Regions from separate parts of the Homo sapiens genome. Here region 1 is linked to region 2. Evidence: promoter capture Hi-C in 16 types of primary human blood cells and fetal thymus (Javierre and others, 2016). All regions are on one chromosome and are shown on one strand. Each heading gives the region's core, a stretch centred on a gene start or on the middle of the fragment in contact. The rest is flanking DNA. Distances are from core to core; before and after follow the strand shown.

Region 1 (6,468 bases), core at 1,661-4,160, 200 kb before region 2:
ACCTTTTCTTTATAAAGCTTCCTTTAAAAAGTACCATTTGTTTAGTCTTGCTAATTAGTGTACATCATCATGCTAATTCAGCCAAAGATACTCTCTACCAGAGTTAACTTTATTCTGTTCCAAGCTATGACTGAACTAAAGCTATAAAGTTGGAATAGCATTAGTGTTGTAGAAAAACTATTCGTAACAGTAACAGTGGGGGCCATTCTGCTGCTGTATTTATAGTCTGAGAGTTTTCTGAGAGAACTTTAAAATGTGCTATATTTTTTCCAAGATAAGGGAAAATGAATATAAACATATTCTGGATCTTTATTGTGCCTATATGCTGTAATCATTTTGATGCTACTGCCAGGTACAATGATTTTTATTTTGTGGGTTGATTATAAAGAAGTAGGTGGGTGGAATGATGTGTCAGGCCAAGTAAAAGTTAACCATTAAATAAACATCCTTTGAATTATAGTAGATATTCAAAGTTATATAATTTCTTTTATAAATAAAGTGTCCTGCATTTTAAAAGAAGATTGGTGAAATTTTTAGTACTTGATATAAGAAAAATATGAAATTTAAATGCAATTCTTTCCTGCTTGTAAAAGTCAGTAAAGTCTAATAGAGGAAGGTATAATAGAGCCTTTTTGGCTGAGCGTGGTGGCTCTCACCTGTCTATTTAACTTAGAATTTTTTGACTTCATAATAGTGTGAAAGCAATATGCATTCAGTAGAAACTACTTTAAGTACCCATACAACCATTCTTTTCTTTACTTTCAGCACAATATTCAATAAATTACATGAGATGTTCAACACTTTATTTTAAAAGAGATTTTGGGTTAGATGATTTACCCAACTATAAGTTAATTTAAGAGTTCTCAACATGTTTAAGCTGTGATGTTCAGTAGGTTAAATGTGTGAAATGCATTTTCAACTAACATTTTCAATTTACAATGGGTTTGTTGTAACATAATCCTGTTGTAAGTCAAGGAGCATCTATATATTTTTTGCTTGCAACTTCTTAAAAAGGTGAGAATGTTTAAAGCAAAAATTAAACACTATTATGGGGTTATATGTAGACATAATATATATGATACCAGTGGCACAAAGTGTAGAGGGAGTTGACTATAATGTTGCAAGATTCTTCTCTTTTACATGAAGTAGTACTGTATTATTATAACTCTAGATAGACTGTGGTATGTTAAAAAGGCATACTGTAATCCCCAGAGTAACCTCTGAAAATGCAGAGAGGCATACCTAAAAAACAAATAGAGGAATTGAAATGATATATTTAAAAATAATGTTAATTCAAAAGAAGGCAGGTAAAAAAGAACAAAGGAACAAAAACAGATGGGACAAATAGAAAACAACTATCTAAATGGTAGCCCCAACCAGATAATTACAAGTTTAAGTGCAGTAAAGACATCAGTGAAAAAGGTAGAGAATATTATAAGGCTAGATTTTTTTTTAAAGCAAGTCCTAACTCTTTACTGTCTATAAGCAACAAAGTTGAAAGTTAAAAAAAAAAAAGAAAGAAAAGAAAGGGAAAGGTAGATATAACAGTCTAACAGGAGAGAAACCAAATGATCAATATCCAGAATGAAAGGGTAAATTGTACTTAGATGAAAGAGAACATAAACTATCAATATCCAAAATGAAAGAGCAGAATACCACTAAAGATGCTATAGATATTGAAAGAGGTAATATCATTAAAGCCTTTATTCCAGTAAACTTGACAACTTATACAAAATTGACAAATTCCTTGAAAAATACAACTTAGCATGATGGCATAAGATGATACAGAAAATCTGCATAATTAAGGAAATAGAATTTGTTACTAAGAATCTTCCCACAAAGACCCAGACGATTTCATTGGTTAATTGTACAGAGAACATACCCATTCGTGAGAAAATAAAACCCTCAGCAAACTAGGAATAGGAGGCAACTTCTCATTTCTTTGAAAAACCTATAGATAATATATTTAGTATCGAAAACTTTTTTAAGATTAGGAAAAAGGCAAGAACGTGCCCTCTCACCACTTCTATTCAAAAAAGCACACACAGAAAAACACCCATAGTGTTAAAAAGGAAAAAGTGGGGCCAGGCCCAGTGGCTCATGCCGGTAATCCCATCACTTTGGGAGGCTGAGACAGGCAGATTGCTTGAGCCCAGTAGTTCAAGATTAGCCTGGGCAATATGGCAAAACGCTGTCTCTACGAAAAAATATGAAAATTAACAAGGTGTGACGTTACGTGCCTGTAGTCCCAGCTACTTGGGAGGCTGAGGCAGGAGGATCACTTGAGCCGAGGAAGTCAAGGCTGCAGTGAGCTGTGATTGTGTCACTTGCATTCCAGCCTGGATGACCCTGTCTCAAGACAAACAAAAACAACAACAACAAAAAAGGAAAAAGTAAAATTAATGATTCAACAATGACATCATGTATGAAGAAAATCCTAAAAAATCTATAAAACAATTTTCAGAACAATTTAGCAAGGATGTAGGATGCAAAATCAGTGTACAAAGATCAATATATTTCTATATTTCAGGAATAAACACCTGGAAATTGAAGTTTAAGATTTTTCATTTATAATTACATAAAAACATATAATAATTTAGCATAAGACATGCAAGACCTCTACAGTGAAAATTACAAAATGTTCCTTAGAGAAATTAAAGATGAAGATAAATGAGAGTATTTTTATTTATTTTTTATTTATTTTTATTTATTTTTATTTTTTTATTATTATACTTTAAGTTTTAGGGTACATGTGCACAATGTGCAGGTTAGTTACATATATATACATGTGCCATGCTGGTGAGAGTATTTTTAAGTGATAAATGTGGTATTATTAAAATGTTAGTTCTCACCAATGTTTAGATTTAATGCAATCCCTGTCATAATCCTAACAAACATTTCTTTTTAAGTTTTGCTCTTTTTTTATTTCTACTGTTTAAAATGGATCTTTTTTAAAAAAAGTTAAGTGGATGAAAACTTGTATAATAGTATTTGGTATTATCTTTATCTTTTCTGTTTTATATTTCATTTTTCATGTAATCTAATTTTCCTTCTTTGTACTTTCTTTTTTTGAGTATGATCATTTATACCTAACTTATTTGTTTTTATTTTTTATAGACTCAGGGTGTATATGTGCAGATTTGTTACAAGGATATATTGCATAATGGTGAGGTTTGAGCTCGTAGGTGCCCATCACACAAATAGTGAACATTGTACCCGAAAGATAATTTTTCAACCCTCACCTTCCTCCCATACTTCCTCCTTTTGAAGTCTCAGTGTCTATTATTTCCCTCTGTATGTTCATATGTACCCATTGTTTAGCTCCCACTAATAGATGAGAACATGTGGTATTTGCTTTTCTTTTTTTTTCTTTTTTCTTTTTTTTTTTTTTTCATGAAACAAGGTCTTACTCTGTCACCCAGGCTGGACTGCAGTGGCATGAACATGGCTCACTGCAACCTTCACCTCCTGGGCTCAAGTGATCCTCCTGCCTCAGCCTTCCAAGTAGCTGGGACTACAGGTGTACACCACCACACTGGCCTAATTTTTAATTTTTTTGTAAAGACAGAGTCTCATTGTGTTGCCCATGTTGATCTCAAACAATCCTCATGCCTTAGCCTCCTAAAATGCTGAGATCACAGGTGTGAGCACTGCCACACCCAGTTGATTTTCTTTGCTTTCCTTTCCTCTTTTTTCTCTTGTTTTCTTTCTTTTCTTTCCTTTTCCCTTCCCCCCCCCTTCTCCCCCACCTTCCCCCGCTCCGCTTCCCTTCCCCTCCCCTCTCCTCTTTTTTTTTTTTTTTTTTTTTGAGACATGGTCTTGCTCTGTCACCCAGGCTAGAGTGCAGTGGTGCAGTTTGCTCACCACAACCTCTGCCTCCCAGGCTCACTCTGGACTCAAGCAATCTGCTCAGCTCAGCCTCCCAAAGTGTTGGGATTACAGATGTGAGCCACCATGCCTGGCCTAATTTTCTGCTTCTGAGTTATTCCAGTTAAGATAATGATTTCCAGCTCTATTCATGTTGTTGCAGAACAACACGGTATCATTCTTTTTTATGGCTGCATAGTGTTCCATGGTGTATATATACCACATTTCTTTATCCAGTCATCCATTGATGGACACAAGATGATTCCATGACTTTGCTGTTGTGAATAGTGCTACAATAAATGTACAAGTACATTTGTCTTTTTGATATAATGATTTATTTTCCTTTGATAGATACCCAGTAGTGTGGTGGTTGCTGGGTAGTTCTTTTTTTTTTTTTTTTTTTTTTTTTTTTAAGTTGGAGTCTTGCTCTGTTGTCCAGACTGGAGTGCAGTGGTGCAATCTTGGCTCACTGCAACCTCCGCCTCCCGAGTTCAAGTGATTCTCCTGTCTCAGCCTCCTGAGTAGCTGGGACTACAAGCATGCACCACCATGCCTGGCTAATTTTTGTATTTTTAGTAGAGATGGGGTTTCACCATATTGATCAGGCTGGTCTTGAACTCCTGACCTTGTAATCTGCCCACCTCAGCCTCCCAAAGTCCTGGGATTACAGGCGTGAACCATCGTGCCTGGCGTTGAATGGTAGTTCTATTTTTAGTTCTTCAAGCAAACGTTTTTTAGAAATTGAAAACTGATTTCAAAATTTGTATGGAAAGGCAAGTGACTTGCAGTAGCCAAAACAATTTTGAAAAAAAAGAATGAAGTTGGAGTATGTACACTAACTAGACATGGCATAAAGTGTTGGTAATGAACTCAATGTGGTTTGGGCATATAGAGAAATAGGTAAATAGAATAGAATAGAAAGTCCAGAAATAGACCCACAAAGGTACCAAAGCAGCTCAGTGGGGATAACAGAAGATTTTCTTCCCAAGTGGTGCTGGCATACCCAGTGGGGAAAAAAACAAAACACCTTGACCTTCACCTTATATTACATACAAAAATTAATTTGAGATACATTTTAGTCCTAAATGTAAAAAGGAAAGTTTCTGGAGGGAAATATTTGAGAATATTTTTACAGTCTGAAGTAGGTGAAATTTCAGGCAAGACGCGGAAAGCAATAATTATAAAAGAAAAAATGATAAATTATGCTTCATCTAACTTTTAAACTTTTGCTCATCAAGAGATACCGTTAAAAAAAGTAAATTTTCTGTTTTTCTTTTTTTTTTTTTTTTTTTTGAGACAGAGTCTCGCTCTGTCACCAGGCTGGAGTGCAGTGGCACGATCTTGGCTCACTGCAACCTCCGTCTCCTGGGTTCAAGCGATTCTCCTGTCTCAGCCTCCCGAGTAGCGGGGACTACAGGTGTGCACCACCACACCCAGCTAATTTTTGTATTTTTAGGAGAGATGGGCTTTTACCATGTTGACCAGGATGGTCTCAGTCTCTTGACCTTGTGGTCTGCCCACCTTGGCCTCCCAAAGTGATGGGATTAGAGGTGTGAGCCACCATGCCCAGCCAAAAAAAGTAAATTTTCAAACAACTGACTGGGAGAAAGTATGTAACAGATATATATCAGACAAAGGATTTATATTTAGGATAAGAAAGAACTCTTACTAATCAACAGTAGAAAGACAAAAATGTTATTAAAATAATGGCCCAAAGATTTGAACCAATAGTTAATAAAAGAAGATACACAAATGAACCATAACATGTTGCTAGACATTTTGGCAGTTTCTTATGAAATTAAATAAATATACACCTACCCAATGATCTAGCACCTCTACTTCTAGGTATTTATTTATCCAAGAAAACTGAATGCAGTATAGCTAAGGAAAACAAAACAAAACAAAAAAACTTGTAAAAGGTGTTCTTGGAAGCTTTACTCATAATGGCTAAAAACTAAAACCAAGTGTCCATCAACAGGAAAACAAATAAATGGCTTATTAAGATAGAATATTAATTAAAAATAAATGATCTACTGATGTGCAACAACCTGGGTGAATCTAACAGTTATGCTGAGCAGAGAAAATAGACACAAGTACATACTGTATAGTTCTATTTATATGAAATTCTAGAATAGGCAAAAGTAATCTATGCTGGAAAAAATTAGAAAAGTAGTTGTGTATGGTATAGATTATGGACTTGGAGGGAGCCTGAGGTACCCTCCTCATATGATTCAAATATTCCATATCTTGATATGGATGTGAGTTTCAGGGATATAGTACATGTTTGTTAAAACTCGCATCTATACACTTAATATTTGTGCTGCTTGCTATATGTAAATTTTACATTAAAAATATTAGGCAAATACTGAACTTGAGTAAGAGATTTGCTTTCCATGGTGGTATGTGTTAGCACTTCTGAAACTAGTTTTTATGTGTTCTAGGCTTGGTCAAATGAGTAAGTGTATTGTGGATGATGGGAGCCAGTTTCTCACCTTTGGATGGAGGAATTTCAAATTTCTTGACTTGGCATTGGAGATGTCAATATGAAATCATAGTTTTTAAAAATATACATATTAAAGATAGAGGTAGATAGAAATGTTT
Region 2 (6,969 bases), core at 2,275-4,774:
GGTAGGGGGTGGTGACACTATCCTGAGACGCCCGCCAACCTCCACAGTTTTTCTTTATCTAAATGATCCCGAGGTTGCACACGGCCCTAAAACGCATCTCAGAGTTGATTTCCGTAGCTCCACAGCTTTGTGGCCCGCAGGCTCCGAACCGTTTACAATGCCGTCTAGACAGCTTTCCGCGAAACCGACCCGAGCTGAGCTGGCTGGCCATCGCCCAGGACTGCAGAGGTCGCGTCTGCAACTGCCTCAGCAACCGAAGTGTCGGAAGGTCCAAAAAAAAAAAAAAAAAAAGCTAAAAAGCGGAAATTTACACATTCAGGAACCTCCTTTGCTCTGCTTGGGTTGCCCAGCCCTAAAGGCAGGGGCCCGGGGCGCAGCGCTGGCCCTGCCGCGGCCTTGGTGGCTGGGCCCGCGTGGACTAGTATGTGTGGATGCGCGCCGGAGGATGGTGGCTACAGGGCTCCCCTCACCGGTCTCGAAGTAGTCTCCAAATGAGCCTAATTTCGATTCCGCCGTCCGCAGAGGCTAGCTCTCTGGACTCCCTCCACGCTGCTGGTCGCTGCCTCCTACCCTCCCTCTGCCACGGCCCAGCCTGATCCGTCCATTCCCCGGTGTCTCCTTGGAACCTCCCTGGGGAAGGGGGTGGAGGACGAACAACTCCCAGCTGCCGGTTCCATTTGTTGCGCTTTTTTCCTTCGACACAATAAAAGTCAAATTAATTGATTCATACCATTAATTACGGCGCGTAGCGTGAAAAGCAACGCTTCCCCTCGGTTAGAGATCTATTGTGCTAATCTCTTGTTCAATCAGTGTTACCATCTGATGCTGGGTCCGGCCCTTACAGAAACTTTTCGACTCGATTAGCTAAATGATGAGACGTGCACAACCTACTGGCTGCGGCCCCGACGTCCCGCGCCCGCGCCGGCCTAATATCGATTTCCAGCGGAGGCAGAGGATTTTTCCGCGGCCGCTCTCGGCTCAGGAACCGGCCGCCGGCTTTCTCCCTCCAGGCGGACCATAGCGCCTGCACAACCTCCGGGGGCGGGAAGGAGGCGAAGCGGCGGCCGGGGAGGGCGACAGGAAGGTTCCTGCTGGCCTTGACGCAGGAGGCCGCCCCAGCGGAAGGGTCCGATCCCGACGCGGTGCAGGGTCCTGCCGGAGACCGGCTAGATGTCGGGCTAAATAAATTGTTTGCCGCGTAGTTGCAGTTTGCAGCTAAAAGCTCACAGGTCGTCAGTTACCGCCAAGCTGTAGGACAGAGACGGAAGAAGCGAGACAGATACAGAGAGAAAGTGAGACACATGTAGTGGGGGGAAGAAAATGTGATAAAGGGTGTATGTGGATAAAAAGTTTCTGAGTCTCAAAGGGTTATTGGAGAGATAGAGGGAGAATGAGTAGACACACACACGCAATTATGAGTTTGAGTGACTCTTTGAGTCTCAACAAGCGAACTTCCCAGGAGAGATTTAAAAAGGAAGATGGCAGCCAGCTGCCTCACCTGCTCAAATGTTTGAAATGTTTCAACCAAAGGAGAATGGAATGAAACCCCTTCGGTTCCTCTGGAGCGGGCAGAGTACATGGTACCCCGCTGGGAAAGCCACCTGGACGCGGTGGGAATGAGGGGTGCGGGGAGTGGGGATCTAGGTTCTAGCAACAGGAGGCAAGAAGAATGGAGTCCGGATCGATAGGAAGGAAATTGAGACGTCTCCAGGGGAGGGGAGATTTAGTGTGTGCGTCCAGTGGGGGGATGGGGGGGAAGAAATGGATAGAAAAATTTATGATGGAGAAAGGGAAATTAATTACAGCTCATTTTGGGTTCTTAGGTGGTCAACACTGGAGGAGGGGCACGGTTAGAGTGCGGAAGGCGGGAATTGCCCACCTACCCCTCACCAGGCCCAAGTGAACCCATATGCCTCTTTTCTCCTCTTTTAAGTCAGAGACAGTGCCAGTGGCTTGAATAAGTCGTTGGCGCGATGTGAGATAGAATCATCATGCCCGCGCGCGGGTGCACTTTTCTTACAATACGGGGAGTTGGGACCAGGTTCCGCGGAGTGAAGGGCGCGTCCCCCACCAAGAGTAGTTACTCTTTGTCCAAGAGGGAGCAAAACGTGGGTGGGACTATTAGAAAAATTCCCCTCCTTTCTCCCCAACACCCCCGCGCCCGCAACAATCAAAGTCTGCTGCTTCTTGAAAATCTTCATAGATTTGTTAAACTATTACCGGCCTCTTTGTCTGGATGGCCGCCACCAAGGAAGGTGGGAAAGGGCAGAGGTGGTACCCAAGGCCCCAACCCACCCAGATTACTTCCATTTCCCAAAGCGGGGGATTTTCAACTCTCTTACCCACCACTACCCCCTTGTATACCTCTCCGGATCTTTTCGGGGTGGAAAAAAAGAGGCTATTTTAATGTTCTTGTTTGGATTTGCATCTCAAAACTTCATTTATTTTCAAGATGTCTGCCACTCAGGGTCCACGCCAAGGCGTGCCTGTAAATGGCGAGAGACCAAAAGGAAAGGAGGAGAGAAAGAGGAAGAGAGAGAGGATGGTTTCGAATTTATTTATATTGGAAATATATAAACATCCATTCTGTAAAAGGCAACACGTTTAATTAACGATGAGAGAGCAGTTAGGGGCAGAAAGCTAGTAAAATTGTGTGATAAATTTATGGCATTGTTAGCGTGCTTTTAATTATGGCTATTATGTTAATTATTTCACATTAGCATGGAGTTATCAGCAGCATGTCGGATTTAATAAAAACGAGCCTTTCTCTCGAAAATTGTTCTTTTCATCCACGAGGAGAAAGGTCCTGGACAGGATCGGGGCTTAAAAATGACTTGGCATTGAAAGCCGGAGTCTTTCTGACACCGTTTGGAGCGATGCGGCCAGGCCCGGCTGTCCGCTGGGTCCCTCCAGGCTACCGGCAGCTCGAGGAGGAGCCCAGGGCTGGGTTTTTAGGAATTCACCATTTTCACCCCCTTCGGAGCCGACACTTCATCATGCGAGATCATTCTGTCAAACAATATGATGCTGCTCATTTTTATCTGTCCCGCTTTACAAAATCCCCATTCAGCCGGCCGAGGAGCAACAAAAGCCTCTGAGCAGCTCCGCAGCCACTGGCGGCCACAGCCTCCCCGGCGCGCGAGAAAGGCGAGAGGGGCCGAGGAAAGCAGGCGGCGGGCGCGCGCCCCTCTCCGCCGGAGGGAACGCTGCCTGCCGGGGCCTGCCAGCCCAGGTGTCGGGTCCTCGGGTGTGGCCCGGGCGGGACACGCCTCCCTCAGGCCCGCGCCCGCCCTCGGCCTCCCTGCAGGCGCCGGGCGAAAGCCCCCAATCCCTCCCCTCAAGCGACTCGCCCACCCAGGCCACATCGATTCTTTAATCACCGCCGATCGATTTATTGGGAGCAAATAAATAGACCGTTTTGGAAACGTTTCAATTGCTGGCTTGACGGTTGGGGCGCTGACGCGGGAGGGCGGGCAGGGCCGTGGGGCGCGCGCGGGAAGGGACTTGTGGGAAGGAAGGGAGCGGAAAGGCCGAGCGCCACCCGCCCCGGGAGTCTCCAGAGCAGCGCGCGGGGCAGACCTCCTCGGGTCCTCCGGCGCTTCGGTCTCCGGAGACGCCCGGCCTCCTGAAGGGTTCGGCTTGTCCTCCTCTGGCGCTCAGCTCCCTCTGGCGGCCGGGCTGGCAGGACCTCAGCGCCCAGCCCTTCCGTCTTGTTACGTCCAGGCAAGTTGGCCTGGCTTTCGGATGCCTCTGGACAGTCCCCGTCCAGGCCCGCGACCCAGCCCGAATGGAGGCCCCGGGGCCCACAGAGCGCGGCCTCCCAGGCCTTCCAGCCCTGGCTGCGGACGCCGCAGCCTTCTCGCCCCTGGGCCGGACGCGGCCTTCCTGCCCAAGACCACTGGGGCCCCCGCCCCTCCCGGGACAGGGCTGTGGACAGGCCAGCTGCTGCCTTATTTTTAGCGCCATTCCATTCGCGCGGTTATATTTAACTCGACCCACTCCTCCGAGGAGGTCGCTCGGACATCGAATTCTCCACATCGCAGCTTGGGCCTGCCCGCCTTGCCTCAGGGGTAGTTCCTCAAGGGACAGATTGGAAAACCCCTGCTTAAGAATCCTTGACATATCTGGAGCTTGGAGAGGACGGGACTGGGGGAGAGATCTGGTTCTAGGGGCAGTGGCCACCGCGCCTGCAGTGCACTGCGTGGGGATTCCGCCTTGTGTGGGGCGGGGGAGGGGAGGAAGGGACAGGATCAGTCCTGTGGGAAGGATTCTCTGCGGGGAGTATTGTGTCCATTTCCTACTTCTGCATGACTCAGAACACTAGGTGACCTGGAAGACCTCTCACGACCCTGCCCTTGGAAAAGTTTATCATTTAGCGTGAGTGCAGGAATCCCCTCTTCTCTACCCTCCAGTGCACCCAACGGGATATTTGATTTCAATGGTATGTTAGCTCCTTAGTTCCAGCCCAGTCTTCCCTTGGCAAAATCTTAAAAAGACCATGCCAAAGGCTCACTCACATCCTGGGGAAAGGACCCACTTGGATAACATACGGAAACACCATTGTGATACACGCTTTATTCACACAGAATGTCAGTTAGCAAACAATGCAGAAGTCATGTACTAAAGGTACACTAACAGATGTGACATGGATCGCGGATATCGAAACACATTTTTTTGTTTTTCTTTGAGACAGGGTCTCACTCTGTGTCTCAGGCTGGAGTACAGTGGTGCAATTGTAGATGGCTGCAGCCCTCGACCTCCTGGGCTCAAGTGATCCTCCTGCCTTAGCCTCTCGAGTAGCTGGGAGTACAGATGCACACCACCACACCCAGGTAATTTTTTATTTTTATTTTTTGTAGAGATGGGATCTCGCTCTGTTGCCCAGGCTAGTCTCAAGCTCTTGGCCTCAAACGATCCTCCCACCTCAGCCTCTCAAAGTGCTGGGATTAAAGGTGTGAACCATCCTGCCAGGCCAAAACACATTTTAAAAATTTAAATTCTTCTAACATTTTTAAAGAAACAAGTTTTCCTTGGGTCAAAGCTGCCTTTTTTGGTAACTCTCATTTTAATCCAAAATTTCTTGGATTTAAGTCATACCCACAGCTGAATTCAGGGGGAGAGGATATATAAGTATACAATATATATTTATTTACTCATTTATTCCTTATTAGTAATTTATTGAACTGTTGTAGACCTGGAAAGTACCAGGAATGAAAAGAAGAATTAAACCCAAGGTTCCTTAAGGAAGAACCAGGCAAGAGAATCAGTGTTTGTCATGCAGGTTGATAGGTGCCATGGCAAGGGGAAACAGCGCAGAGGAGGGCCTTTCTCACTGGGTAGGGATAGAGAAAGTGTGAAGCCTTCAATACGGAAGATGCTACTGACCAGCTACCTCTGACTTTAGGGGTTTTCAGGGGAGATTGGGGAGAAGTAAGTTAGAACCCGGGATACTTTGGGAAAAGAAAGTGCTAAGTTGGATGCCTAATGGTACTTCTGGACAGCCAGAAAGTACTTGGTCTCAAGGGAAATGGACAATAGATGTATGATAAGGAAACAGAAAGGGATGGAAGAAGAGAGAAGGGAAATGTAAAAATTGAAATTTGCTTAGACATTTTGTCTAGGTATAGTACATTTAGACTACATGGAAGTATTTGACTAACAAACACATGGAAGAAATTTAAAAGGGAACGTAGATAAAGGAAAAGATCCTTTGAAAAGAAAATATTCAAAAGGCTAGTTGTTAGACCCAGCTGTTTTTCTAACCTTATCGTATTCATCAAGGGCCAGACACTGGAACCACAAAGGTGAGTAAGAAGATAGATTCCACCTTTAGAATGTTAATTCCAGAAGGGCAGGAATTTTTATCTGTTCACTGTTGTATCCCTAGCCTCCAGCCAAGTACTAGTGGTGTAGGGGTGGAGGTGTGGCTCAATAAATATTGCTTGAATAACCCGATCAGTAAGACACATTCTCACTCTAATGGGGGACTTATTCAGGGAAGTCCATAGCTAAAATGTAGTGTGATGAGTTATAAATATATGATAGAATGTTACAGGAGCGCAAAAGAAACATAACTAACTCTGCCTGGGAAAGAGAATAGGTGGGTAGGAAGGTTTCCCTAAGAAATAATACTTGAACTGTCCGGCGCGGTGGCTCACGCTTGTAATCCCAGCACTTTAGGAGGCCGAGGCGGGCGGGTCACGAGGTCAGGAGATCGAGACCACAGTGAAACCCCGTCTCTACTGAAAATACAAAAAATTAGCCGGGCGTGGTGGCCGGCGCCTGTAGTCCCAGCTATTCGGGAGGCTGAGGCAGGAGAATGGCGTGAACCCGGGGGGCGGAGCTTGCAGTGAGCAGAGATTGCCCCAATGCACTCCAGCCTGGGCTACAGAGCGAGACTCCGTCTCAAAAAAAAAAAAGGAAATAATATTTGAGCTGTTGTGAATGATAAGCAGCAGTTAGGTAAAGAAAAAGAGGAACAGAGTTCTGGGAAAAGAAAGAGAACACAGCACGAGTAAAGACACAGATTTATGCAAGACACGAGGAGCAGCATATAGTTTGGTTTAACTGAAATGAGATAAGGGAATGGCCAGAGTAAAATAATAAAGACTCTTGAATACTGGGCTGAAGAGCCCAAAGTTATTAAGAAGCCAGTAAAGTCTTTAACTGATTGGCATGATTGAAATAAAATTTTGGAACTATTCTTTGCGGGAATGTGAAGGATAAACTGAGGGAGTAAAAGACTGGAGATAGCAAGGAGGCTATTTCGTTATCTTAGTAAGAGATGAAGAAGGTATGATTTAAATTATTGGCAGTGAGACTGGAGAAGAGGAGATGATGATGACTTTGAGAGGACTGAAGAAGTAAAATGGATGGAACTAAGTGTCTGATTGCTAAGGGAGAAAGATTTCACAGTAACTCCCAGATATGAAATTTGCATGTCTAGAAGAAATGGTGTTATCATCAATT

The links. Contacts are between HindIII fragments. The CHiCAGO score rates a contact against its expected background, and 5 or more counts as called.
Region 1: a fragment that was not itself captured here is called in contact with the fragment with the promoter of LINC00466 in region 2 in 1 of 17 cell types (monocytes); the score reaches 7.1 in monocytes.

Annotation. Positions count from the first base shown.
Region 1 is chr1:63,513,637-63,520,104 of GRCh38, reverse strand. All of the region lies in intron 1 of ITGB3BP (integrin subunit beta 3 binding protein), which reads left to right. It overlaps LOC102724319 (a long non-coding RNA gene), which reads right to left. Exons shown (of 3, transcript XR_426701.4): 3 at 2,311-2,349. Among named protein-coding and RNA genes, the nearest start is that of ITGB3BP, 6.4 kb to the left of the region's middle. The HindIII fragment of the contact is 5,782 bases long and covers 20-5,801 here.
Region 2 is chr1:63,313,812-63,320,780 of GRCh38, reverse strand. LINC00466 (long intergenic non-protein coding RNA 466) reads left to right here and starts at 3,524. Exons shown (of 12, transcript NR_038252.3): 1 at 3,524-3,723; 2 at 4,694-4,832. RefSeq lists a silencer at 3,199-3,378. The HindIII fragment of the contact is 23,330 bases long and covers 1-6,969 here.